Regions from separate parts of the Homo sapiens genome. Here region 2 is linked to region 1. Evidence: promoter capture Hi-C in human tissues and cell types (Jung and others, 2019). All regions are on one chromosome and are shown on one strand. Each heading gives the region's core, a stretch centred on a gene start or on the middle of the fragment in contact. The rest is flanking DNA. Distances are from core to core; before and after follow the strand shown.

The links. Contacts are between HindIII fragments. The study calls those that stand out against the background at their distance.
Region 2: the fragment with the promoter of BECN1 here is called in contact with the fragment with the promoter of NKIRAS2 in region 1 in 1 of the 25 tissues and cell types used here (heart right ventricle).

What each region holds. Positions count from the first base shown.
Region 1 is chr17:42,015,965-42,021,755 of GRCh38, forward strand. NKIRAS2 (NFKB inhibitor interacting Ras like 2) reads left to right here and starts at 4,126. Exons shown (of 4, transcript NM_017595.6): 1 at 4,126-4,240; 2 at 5,600-5,707. The coding sequence starts at 5,614. It overlaps DNAJC7 (DnaJ heat shock protein family (Hsp40) member C7), which reads right to left and starts at 1,475. Exons shown (of 14, transcript NM_003315.4): 1 at 1,376-1,475. The coding sequence starts at 1,452. RefSeq lists enhancers at 684-1,883, 994-1,043, 1,114-1,523 and silencers at 1,634-1,783, 4,010-4,419. The HindIII fragment of the contact is 10,906 bases long and covers 1-5,791 here.
Region 2 is chr17:42,819,508-42,825,739 of GRCh38, forward strand. It overlaps BECN1 (beclin 1), which reads right to left and starts at 4,775. Exons shown (of 12, transcript NM_001313998.2): 1 at 4,648-4,775; 2 at 4,241-4,372; 3 at 1,267-1,334; 4 at 41-102. The coding sequence starts at 4,370. It overlaps MIR6781 (microRNA 6781), which reads right to left and starts at 4,436; the gene lies at 4,373-4,436. RefSeq lists a silencer at 543-592 and enhancers at 4,002-4,568, 4,569-5,137, 5,004-5,133, 5,138-5,704. The HindIII fragment of the contact is 8,869 bases long and covers 668-6,232 here.

The sequences.
Region 1 (5,791 bases), core at 2,876-5,375:
CACTGGGAGGAATTTTGTTTCCCATTGTGCAGCTCTTTAATGATGTATAAGGGTTGATGATGCTTAGCTTTAAATATCTAGGAAGAAGTAGGAACAACATGAAAGCTCAAAATTAAGAACAGAGACTGGACTCTGGTGTCCTGGCTTCTCTGATATCCCAGGGGCCTATTACACTTTGTCAGGCCCCTCAGCTCCCAGCAGATCAGGAACTTGAGATCTGGCTGTGGTAACCACCCTCAAGCTTGATAACTATTCATTGCGTCCGAGTACTTCTTATATTTCGAACTCATTAGATAGTAAAAATCTCAGAATCCTGATTTCAGATCTCATGAACTAATTCTACATCACCGCCTCAAATTACCCAGCCTGAAGACACAACGGGCTTGGTATGAAGATATAAAGTATGTTGCAAAGAGACTGAGGGCACTGTAGATATCTTGAACAAAAGGGTCAGACTAACCCGCAGCTGATAAGGAAAGGGCTCCAAACTTCTAGAACCTTCTTGTCAATTCTGCTTTAGGATTAGAACAAGTATGACTACCCACAACTCTGTTCCAACCCCACTTCCAATAATCTGGCCTAACTGTTGCCAGAATCTAGAGCGTTCTCGAAAACCACTCACTCAGCAGCTCCCTTGGCTAGTCCGACTGGCAATCTCGAACCACTGCGGCTGCTTCGGAGTGCCAACAGCGCCCAAGCAGTTGCCCTCTTCCTTGGTGCTTAACTTAAGAAAGAACAGTGCTGGGAAGGATAAAGATCACCCAGGAAGGACAGGGGAAGAGGAGTCTGACGTAGAGAACACGAGATAAGCCCCTCGCTCTTCCTTTTTTTCTCTGTCATCTTTGACTTCTGGGATAACCGGGGGCAACCAGGTCAATTATGGAGACACACAATCACTTCGAACCCAGACTAGTGATCGCTGGGGTATAATTACAAGGGAAAACGGGGTGAGGAGAGCAAAGGTTTTGGAGACGGAAAGTGCAGACAGGCAACAATGCACAGAAGTTAACAAGAGAACGCGGGGGTCGGGGGCGATGTAAGGAAGTCGTCATCGACGCCGCGCCGCTTCCCCCACCTCGCACCAGACCTCTGAAATTGCCCTCGGAGACTCGGCCTCTCCTATAAGGACGATCGTCCTCTCAGCTGGAGAACAAGGCCATGCCTCAGCTCCTACGCCAGGCGGAAGCGGGAGAGGAAGGCCGACCCCCAAGAGCGCCCCTTCAGGGGGTCCATCCGGCCTTGATCTCAGATGGGGGGGTGTTTGCGGAGGGCGGGGCATCGCCTCAACAGCTGGGGGCTGCATCATGGCAGGAACGAGTTTCCCTGAGCCACGGAGCTGCAGGTCGCCTCCTCTACTACCCTGCTACCCGGTTACCTCTTCGCCTCTTGGTCGTCGAGCAGCTCCGGCTCGGTCGCCGCCATTACCACATCGCACTCCGCGGCAGCCGCCATCTTACCGCCGGGACCAGAGAGCTGGGTGGGAGGCCGGCGGTGAAGAGCACTTCCGGTTGGAGCATAGAGCAGCTCCGCGGCGCCGCGCCCAGAAGGGCTCCCTCGGGCTCGTCTACCAGAGAGAGGCTCCGCTTGGGGCCAGAGCGGCCTCCCGCCCCCGGATGTCCACGGTGGTCTCCGCGCCGGGGCGGGAGCCCAGGGGCTGTGCCGGTGCGTAGGCGGCGCCACTTTACCCGTGGGTGGGAAGGCGGGGTGTACCGGTGGTAGCCTCTCTAGGGCTTGGCTGCTTTCAGTATTCCAAGAGCCTCATTGCCATAGCAACTTCCAATCCTAGAGAGTCTTCCTGAAAGGCTCCGTGGAGTCTGGGTTGCGTGGGGACCAGGTGACCCAAGACTCTGTAGGGAAGGAGTCCCCACTGCTACCTTTCCGACCTTGGAGTGTGTCCACAGCTTCTTCCCGGGAAAGTCAAGAGACACTTTGAGCTCAGTTCCCCCAGCTTTCATCGTTCTCTGGAAGCCCTGCCCAGTCAAGCCAGGGGAACGCAGGGCGTCTTCACCCTGCGCCTTTCATCCACTCCGGATCTCCAAACACCAACTGGTTCATCACCCTAATGACGCTGACCCTTTTACAAGGCTCCTTTCATGTCAGCCGCCTGGGAGTGCCATCTCAGCATTAAGCCTAGGAAAGCTGACACATGGCGCCCCAGACCCTGCCCTGGAGTTTATAAGGAAGCTCGCGGGGTGAGGTCCTTGCTCTTGTGTCCCCAGTACTCCCACCTCTTATATAAACTCTCTACTCATCACGCTTGCCTTGCCGAATGCGGTCTGGATTGAGAATTCATAGGGGACAAGGGCACAGTTTAACTGTCTTTGTTGTTATTCCCTCACCCAAACGACTATTTGTGGAGCTGAATTAAATTGGAGCTTTCTGGGGTTAAATTGGAGGAGTATGAGGAGTAGCTTTACAATGTAAAGCTAAGAGTAAAATAAGAAGAGGGCAAAGGAATTTTAAAAGGATTTACCTGTTTGTTCCAGGAAAACAGCATGTGCCAATGCTCATACTCTGCCTATCCCAGTGTGGAGGGAGCTGAAACCACAGCGACCACTGAGTAGGGAGGGATAGGACAAGCTCACTAGGTTGGAAAGGAGGGGTCATTCGTTGAGCCAATCACTCAGCCCTTTCCAAAACGCCTACTCTGTGCTAGGTTGTGAGGGCACAAGACTTACAGACCACCTGCCCTGCCTGCCAGTGGCTCATAGTCCAGTCTAATGCTAGCCAACCTGTCTCACCATCTTCCCACTTTATGTTCTATCTAAGGCAACTCATTTATTCCCACAGCTTTACTTCCATCTGTTGATGACTCTCAACTTTTCATATCTCCAACCTAGACCTTTCTTCAGCTTCCACAGCTGTATATCCAACTATCTACTGGATATCTCTTGTATGTTTCACAAATCCCCAAGGCTTACCATATTTAAATTTAACTTTTTCATTGTCTACCCACACCTCAACAACAGAAAAAACAAATGTTGGATGTAATTATTATCTTTCCTAAATTCCGTATCTTGTTAAATGGATTAAACCATTCTCACTCTTGGCTTCCAATTTGTTGCCAAGTTTTGTTGATTCTCCTACCAAATATTTCCCAAATCTATCTCCACCTTTCCATCCCGATTCAGGCGCTCATCATTTTTTAAAATCTTGGAATAGGCTGGGTGTGGTGGCATGCATCTGTAGTCCCAGCTATTTGGGAGGCTGAGGCAGGAGGATCACTTGAGCCCAGGAGTTAGAGGCTGCAGTGAGCTATGATCACACCAATGTACTCCAGCATGGAGAAAAGAGCAAGACCCTGTCTCAAAAACGGCAACAACAACAACAACAAAACAACAGAAAAAAAAACTTGGAATACATCAATAGTCTCCTAATCGGTCTCTAATTTCATCTCTGTTCAGTCTTCCCTCTTCTGCCAGAGTGACCTTCCTCAGGGACTGATCATGTCTCTTCATTGGCAATGGCTTTCCATTGCCGTCAATTTGATCTCTTTGGCCTACCACACAAAGCCTTTGATTATCTGTTTCTTTTTTTAAATAATTTAATTTGAGTACCAATATTTAGGTCCTTTCTACCACCAATATTGAACCCAAGTTCTCATAGTTTCAGAAAATGCCATGACTTGTAGCCGTTTCCTCCACCCTAGAACACCCTTTCCCCCAGGCCCTTCAGTGTCTGCTGACTCAACGTTAAATGCCCTTTTGCTGTGCTCCACAGCACCTCAGTAGTTGTTAGACATCTAGCTTCTCTAGACCGTGAGTTCTGATGGGCAGCCACCATGTCTAACTCGTCCACTTTCTCTCAGTATATGGCCCTGCACCAGGCACAGACAGATGATGCTCAGAAAACATTTGACGAATAAATGATTGAGTAAACGAAGAGTTACTGTACTCTGATCGCCTTTACAGAGAGAACATCTGGGCCTCAGAGACACCAGAACACCCAGCGGCCCGCGTCCAGGGAGTCTAGAACCTTGGGCTCCCGCGCACACCCAGGCCAGGTCCTGGCCGTCATTCTCCCGCCGGCCTCTGGGGGAGCTGCGCGGTCCGCGCTCTCTCTCCGCTGCCGGAATTCGTCTTGCCTGACGGAAGCTGGGGAGCGGGCAGGCGGCGGGGGCGGGGCCTGGAGGAGCCTACACCGACTCTGGAGGAAGACTGGAGCCTTTGCGGCGGCGCTGCCCCTCCCCTGGTCCCCGCGAGCTCGGAGGGCCCGGCTGGTGCTGCGGGGGCCCCGGGAGGTACGGACCTGGGAGGCGAGGCTCGTCCGGCGCTAGGATCGGCCTCCGCCTCCGGGCCGCTTTAGGTGGCTGGTCTCTGCCTCTCATTCCCTCTGGGGGCTCCCCCGTGAGAAAATCTGTGGCGGAGGCACCTCTGGCCCACTCTTATGGTGTCCTTTATTGTGGGGCTCGCTATATGGAGAGGGGGTCTGTGTCAGGAGCTTCCCCTGGAGAGGTTTCTGTTAGGGACCGTCTTTGGGAGTGATCTATCTCTGCTCTCTGGGGGGGATCTTTGTCTGGAGCTTTTGGGGGGCTTGTGTTTGGAAGTTTGCCTTCGGGGAGATATCTGTCTGGGACCTCTTAGGGTTTCTGTATCTGAGCTTTCTCTTTTGTGTCTGTCAGTCCAAGGGCAGCAAAAAGTATGTCCTTTCTGAAGCCTTTTTTTCCGTAGGTTTCTTCATTCTTTTCTCTCTTGTCTTATGTTCATTTTAGCCATAGACTTGACTGGAGTTTAGAGGGAATTGATTGTTGTCCAGATGAGTCGTACAGGAAAGCAGATTGTCTTTTTTTGAGACGGAGTCTTGCTCTGCCGCCCAGGCTGGAGTGCAGTGGCATATTCTTGGCTCACTGCAATCTCCGCCTCCTGGATTCAAGCGATTCTCCTGCCTCAGCCTCTCAAGTAGCTGGGATTACAGGCACCCGCCACCACGCCTGACTAATTTTTTGTATGTTTAGTAGAGATGAGGTTTCACTATGTTGGCCAGTCTGGTCTCGAACTCCTGACTTTGTGATCTGCCCACCTCGGCCTCCCGAAGTGCTGAGATTACAGGCGTGAGCCACCGTGCCCTGCCCCAGATTATCCTTTTTATTTGCTCAGTCCCCCCAGGGAGCAGATGGCTTCAGACAGCCACACAAAACACTGTTCCTGCTTAATTCTCCATGGGGTCATGGTTAAAGAGAGGAAGCTGGGCTGAGCTCCCTTTACTAATTGGTCCTCTACATCTTGCGCACAGAAGGGAACCTGGCCCAGTGGCCAGTGACTCTCCTCTCCCTTTATGGCAGCATTTCCAAGCACCTGCCCTGTGACAGATACTGGCTAGGTACTGGGGATAACAAAGACGAATAAAATAACAGCTTACCATCCAGTAGTAGACATGGAGACATCCGTTTCCTCTGACTAGCATTGGGATGGTGCTGAAACCCTGGAACTATACATTCAGTTTAGAACTATACATTCAGTTTAGAACTCTCAGTTATGGACGTTCTGCCTTCTGTTTTTTTGGTTTTTGTTTTTGTCCACCAGAAAACATCTGCTAGTAACTGCCTTCTGTGTTGATGCTTTCTTTCCTCACCTTACCCAGCGTGCTTCTGTTCTTCAAGGTTGAAAACTAAGCATGGGGAAGAGCTGCAAGGTGGTCGTGTGTGGCCAGGCGTCTGTGGGCAAAACTTCAATCCTGGAGCAGCTTCTGTATGGGAACCATGTAGTGGGTGAGTGTTGTTGGAGGGGGAGGAACAGTGGAAGAAGTTGAAAAATAAGGAATAGGACTTGATCACAACACACACAGGCTAAAA
Region 2 (6,232 bases), core at 3,525-6,024, 800 kb after region 1:
AGCCTTTGGCAAGGAATGGGGGCTGAGAAGTAGTAGGCACCTGGCTGGGGGGATGAATCTGCGAGAGACACCATCCTGGCGAGGAGTTTCAATAAATGGCTCCTGGGAAAGAAATAAGAGGGCATTACAACTCTGGCAGCTTAGAGGTAGAGTTCATCTCCCAAACAGCCTCAGAACTATATGGCTTTAGTCTTGATAACCACAAGACTTGATAAACCACAGAGACTTAAAAAATGGGTATTATCGAAGCAATCCTTGTGTATGTGGACTAAGAAAGGACCCACGATACAGACAAACCTTAAGTCCCATTTGATTTTTTTTTTGTGGGGAACAGCATTTCCTAACTATGTTACACTCTATGTATGGTTAAATTTGCATTTCTCAACACTTAGCAGTCAGGGGCAGAGGACAGAATGCCCTAAATCATAGTACAAGGAAAAAGCCAGATCAGACTGCAATGAAGTCTGCCACAGTACAAAGTAGAAAATTTATATGTTTTCAGTATTTTGAGATTACTCATATGTGACCAAAATCTCACAGCATCTATTGACTTCAAATGCCAGACCCCTTTGCCTCCTTGCTTAAAGGCTTCTCTGGCTCCTGGACTCTTCACTGCCTGCAGGGGGCGCTGGCCAGAATTAATGACCTCCACTAAACCTGACATCAGCACTCCCCCAGTGACTGGCAGCTGTGGGTAAATAAATACTCCAGCTCCCTTGCTACTTGAGAAGAAATCTCAGGTGTGTATTCAATAGTATCTCACAGGATGTTGCTCCACAGGATCCCTGATATTATCACAGCTTAAAATGACATGTTCTCTAACACTGACAATTCTTTCTGTCCAGGGCAATCATACAATTCACTGTCCTAACCAGGATGCTTTTGAGAATGGAAAGGAGTGGATATTAACAACTAGCTAGAACAACAGATGCAAATCAATGCTCTAGAACGACCTGGACACACAGGTCATCCCATCTCCAACCTACAATAATTTATAATTCTGCTTCAAATAAAGAGCCCTTTCCAACATTTTAAAATGACTAATTCAGTAACCCTGTGACCTCAGGTGCAGATCTGTACCTCCAATGGTGCATAGCAGCCTGATCATGTAGAATGTCTCATTACCCAGAGATCCCAAAAGTCCGGGAGCTCTAGAAGCGCCAAGTAGCCTGCAGAAACCAAGCCTGCATTCCTGTTTTCATATCATATCTCTCATTTGGAATGTTTACTACATGAGGAGGATAGGGGAGAGGGCACTTCTATTACCTCTCCTGAGTTAGTCTCTTCCTCCTGGGTCTCTCCTGGTTTCGCCTGGGCTGTGGTAAGTAATGGAGCTAAGGGCAAGGAAAATATTGGGTCAGAAACAGTCTTATTAAAGCAGGAGGGCATCTGAAAGTATGGGAAAAGAATGTGAAATATTCTCATCACCACCCTCACCTCCAATTTTTCTTAAAGTACCATTTACACCAAAAGAATCTGTGGTCTTCCTCACCCCCATTAAATCAGATTAAAGAAATGTTCAATTTTTTAAGGCATAATGGTATCATTATTATTATTATTATTATTACTTTAAGATGGAGTCTTGCTCTGTCGCCAGGCTGGGGTGCAGTGGCACGATCTCGGCTCACTGCAATCTCTGCCTCCCGGGTTCGAGTGATTCCCCTGCTTCAGTCTCCCAAGTAGCTGGGACTACAGGCGTGCACCACCATGCCCAGCTAATTTTTTTGTATTTTAGTAGAGACAGGGTTTCACCATGTTGGCCAGGTCTTGATCTCCTGACCTCGTGATCCACCCGTCTCAGCTACCCAAAGTGCTGGGATTACAGGCTGAGTCACCGCGCCCGGCCGGTATCATTTATCTTTAAGAATCCTTATCTGTCAAAAATACAGAAATATTTACAGTATTTATGTTTGGGATTTGCTTCAAAACAATTCAGAGTGGGAAGGAATGGATGGGGCTGTAGACAAAACTTGATTAAATATGTGTTGATAATTGTTGCAACTAGGTGATGGGTACACAGGAGTTCATGATATACTCTGAAATTTTCCATCACAAAAGCAAACATCCTGTTTCCCCCAGAATAGCAAGGAGGGAACATAAGGAAACTTTCTAGGAAGATGAAACATTGCTAAATTGCAACGATCCAGATTACATCAGTGTATCCATTTGTCAAAAATGTACAGCTAAGATTCATACATTTCAAGTCATGACAATTTACCTTTCTAAAAAGGTGTGAAAAACATAATAATTGAGCAGAGGATGGGAGGTGAATGGAGGTGTAGACAACATAAGAATGTGAGAATATGGCTGATTATTGAAGCTGGATGATGAATACAAGGCAGGCTATGCTATTCTCTTGACTATATATGTCTCAAATTTTCCATAATAAAAAGTCAAAAATTGTTATTAAAAGAGTTTAAGAGGCGCGGTGGCTCACGCCTGTAGTCCCAGCACTTTGGGAGGCTGAGGCGGGCAGATCACAAGGTCAAGAGATCGAGACCATCCTGGCCAACATAGTGAAACCGTCTCTACTAAAAATACAAAAATTAGCTGGGCGTGGCGGTGTGTGCCTGCAGTCCCAGCTACTCAGGAGGCTGACGCAGGACAATCACTTGAACCCGGGAGGCAGAGGTTGCAGTGAGCCGAGATCGCGCCACTGCACTCCAGCCTGGCAACAGAGTGAGACTCCGTCTCAAACAAACAAACAAAAAAAAGAGCTAATTTCCCCTCAAGAAAGAGAAACCAGGTAATAATAGCAGCTAATACTTATTGAATACTATTTGCCCAGCAAATTCCTAAGTGTTTCTGTGGTTTGTCATATTTGAACTTTATAAATTCTTTATGAGGCAGTTTAACGTTTTACAGAAAAAATCAGAAACCAAGGCTTGGAGAAATGAAGTAACTTGCAAAAAGTTGTTCAGCTAGTAAATGACAGCCAGGATTTAAACCCAAGCAGGCTGACTCCAGGCCCATAAGCTTATTTAAGCTGCCTATTCAGTCTTCTCTTTTACTGTCTGACTTAATCTGAATTCTTCTGACTTTGCGGGATTTTGGGGTTTTTTATTTTTTTTAATTATAGAGACAGGGTCTTACTGTGTTGCCCAGGCTGGTCTCAAACTCCTGCTCAAGTGATCCACCTGCCTCAGCCTCCCATAGTGCTGGGATCACAGGTGTGAACCACCACTCCTGGCCTTTTTAATTAATTTATTTTTTGAGACAGGGTCTTGCACTGTTGCCCAAGCTGCAGTGCAGTGGCATGATCATAGCTTCCTGCAGCTTTGACCTCCTGGGCTCAAGTGATCCTCCTGCCTCAGCCTCCACCACCCACCACACCCAGCAATTTTTTTTTTTTTTTAGAGACAAGATCTCTGCTAGGTTGCTCAGGTTGGTCTTGAACTCCTGGGCTCAAGCGATCCTCCCACCTCAGCCTCCCAAAGCACTGAGATTACAGGCGTGAGCCATCACATCCAGCAAATTCTTCAGACTTTAAGACTCTACTCCATTTACCAGCTGTTGGACCTTAGGTAAGTCACTTAACCTCTCTGTGCCTCGGTTCTTCATCTGAAAAATGATGTAATGACGGTATACCCCGTACGGGTTGTTACAGGGACTAAATGAAGTAATACGTGTAATGCACTTGGTATTACTATATAGTAAGTCCTCAAAAAATACCATTTATTATTATATATACATATTCCTTTTCTCTGAAACAGCAGGAGCAGAAAATAAGGATCTTTCTTTTGCTACTGAAAGCTCTCTTTTTTTGAGACGGAGCCTCGCTCTGTTGCCCAGGCTGGAGTGCAGTGGTGCGATCTCAGCTCACTGCAAACTCCACCTCACCGGTTCAAGCGATTCTCCTGCCTCAACCTCCCGAGTAGCTGGGACTACAGGCACGTGCCATCACGCCCGGCTAATTTTTGTATTTTTAGTAGAGAGGGGTTTCGCCATGTTGGCCAGGCTGGTCTCGAACTCCTGACCTCAGGTGATCTGCCCGCCTCGGTCTCCCAAAATGCTGGGATTACAGGCGTGAGCCACCGCGCCCGGTCGGAAAGCTCTCAGAAGTCCACAATGTCAGAATGCTTTATGTTTCCAAGGAGAAAACAGGGAGCCAGATGAAGTGACTTTCCTAGGTTCACACGATGAGTTTGTGGCAGACTACACAGCCACCATAAGAATTATATCACCAAAGCTGCCCACCTTCCACATTCTTGACCACCCTCTTTCCAAGGGTCTCGCTGACCTGTGAGTTCCTGGATGGTGACACGGTCCAGGATCTTGAAACTCGTGTCCAGTTTCAGGGGCTGGCTGCAGCGCTGGCACACGAAGCTCACCTGCATGGTGCTGTTGTTGGACGTCTTAGACCCTTCCATCCCTGAGGCCGTGGAAAAGAGGCAACATTAGGGAGAAGCGACGCCCTTGACCTCCGGCCCGGGGTTACCACATGCCTTGGTGACGATGGTAAAGGGAGGGAAGTCCCAACCTGCGCCGTTCCCTCTAGGAATGGTATGATACGGGGAGGACCTGCTTCCGGGACAGCCTGAGCAAAGGCAGTTTAGAGCCCAGGGTCAGGGAAGGGACTCCAATAAGAGCCGTGAGGGTTCCCAGACTCCCTTCTAAGGTCCCACCTCAGCCCCCGATGCTCTTCACCTCGGGAGCCCGGAGCCCGTCACCCAAGTCCGGTCTACCGCGGAGGCACTGTGGCCTCGGGTCGGCCCCGGAGCGAGGCCTCCAGAACTACCATCGCTCTGTCTTCAGCGACTTCCCGGTAGCCGCCGGAAAACTTCCGCCCGAGACCGGACGTGACGCTACGACGGCAGCAGGAGCTCCTGGTCCACAGGCTCACAGGCCCGGCAGCGGCCCCCAGAGGCCGGGCTGGGAAAAGCAGCGGGCTTCAGCGGATGAACAAGGTTACCACGGGAAGTGTAGGAGCCAAGGCCGCAGAGAATGGGGAGGCTCCGCTATTCTCTAAATTCAGGGGGCGGCGGGCGCGGTGGCTCACGCCTGTAATCTCAGCACTTGGGGAGGCCGAGGAGGGCGGATCACGTGAGGTCAGGAGTTCGAGACCAGCCTGGCCAACACAGTGAAACCCCGTCTCTACTAAAAATACAAAAACTAGCCGGGCGTGGTGGGGCACGCCTATAATCCCAGCTTAATCCCAGCTACTCGGGAGGCTGAGGCAGGAGAATCGCTTGAACCTGGGAGGTGGAGGTTGCAGTGAGCCGAGATCGGGCCACTGCACTCCAGCCTGGGCGACAGGGCAAGGCTCCATCTCAGAACAACAACAGCAACAACAAAAGGCCGGGCATGGTGGCTCACGCTTGTAATTCCAGCACTTTGGGAGGCCGAGGCGGGCGGATCACAAGGTCAGGAGTTCGAGACCAGCCTGGCCAAAATGGTTAAATCCCGTCTCTACTAAAAAATACAATTAGCTGGGCATGGTGGCGTGCGCCTGTAATCCCAGCTACTCAGGAGGCTGGGGTAGGAAAATCGCTTGACCCCCGGAGGCGGAGGTTGCAGTGAGTCGAGATCATGCCACTGCACTCCAGCCTGGGCGACAGAAGGAAACTCCATCTCAAACCCCCCCCCCCCACACACACACACAAAACCAACAAAAAAAGAAAGTGATATTCAAATAAAAGCTTGAAGAAGGTGAGGAAGGAATTCTTACCTGCATCTTAAGGAAGAGCATTCTAGGCCAAGGGAACAGCAAGAGCACAGAGGGTACCTGTTTGGGGATTAGCAGAGGCTGGTGTGGCTAGAAGATGGGCAACGAAAAGAGATACAGAAAATGGGGTGAGGGAGGTAAGAGTGTTGAGCTACCACCTAGGCTCTTATAGGGATTGTAAAGCTCTGGCTTTCACTTTGAATGAGATGAGATGACTGGGTCTTGAGCAGAGGGACTTACTTCATTTTTAAAAACAACTTTATGGGGTATAATTTACATACCATAAGACTCACACTTTTTAAATGTACAGTTCAATAATTTTTAGTAAATTTACACAGTTGCCCAACTATCACCATAATCCAGTTTTAGAACATTTCCCATCTCCCCTTGCAATCCCCCACTGTGGCCTCCCAAAGTGCTGAGATTACAGGTGTGAGCCAATGTGCCTGGCCAAAAGTTTTTCATTTCAATAAAGTCCAATGTTTATGCTTTTGGTGTAAAAGAAACCACTGCTTAACCCAAAATTGTATGTAGTATTGTCTATTTTATTTTTATTTTGAGACAGTG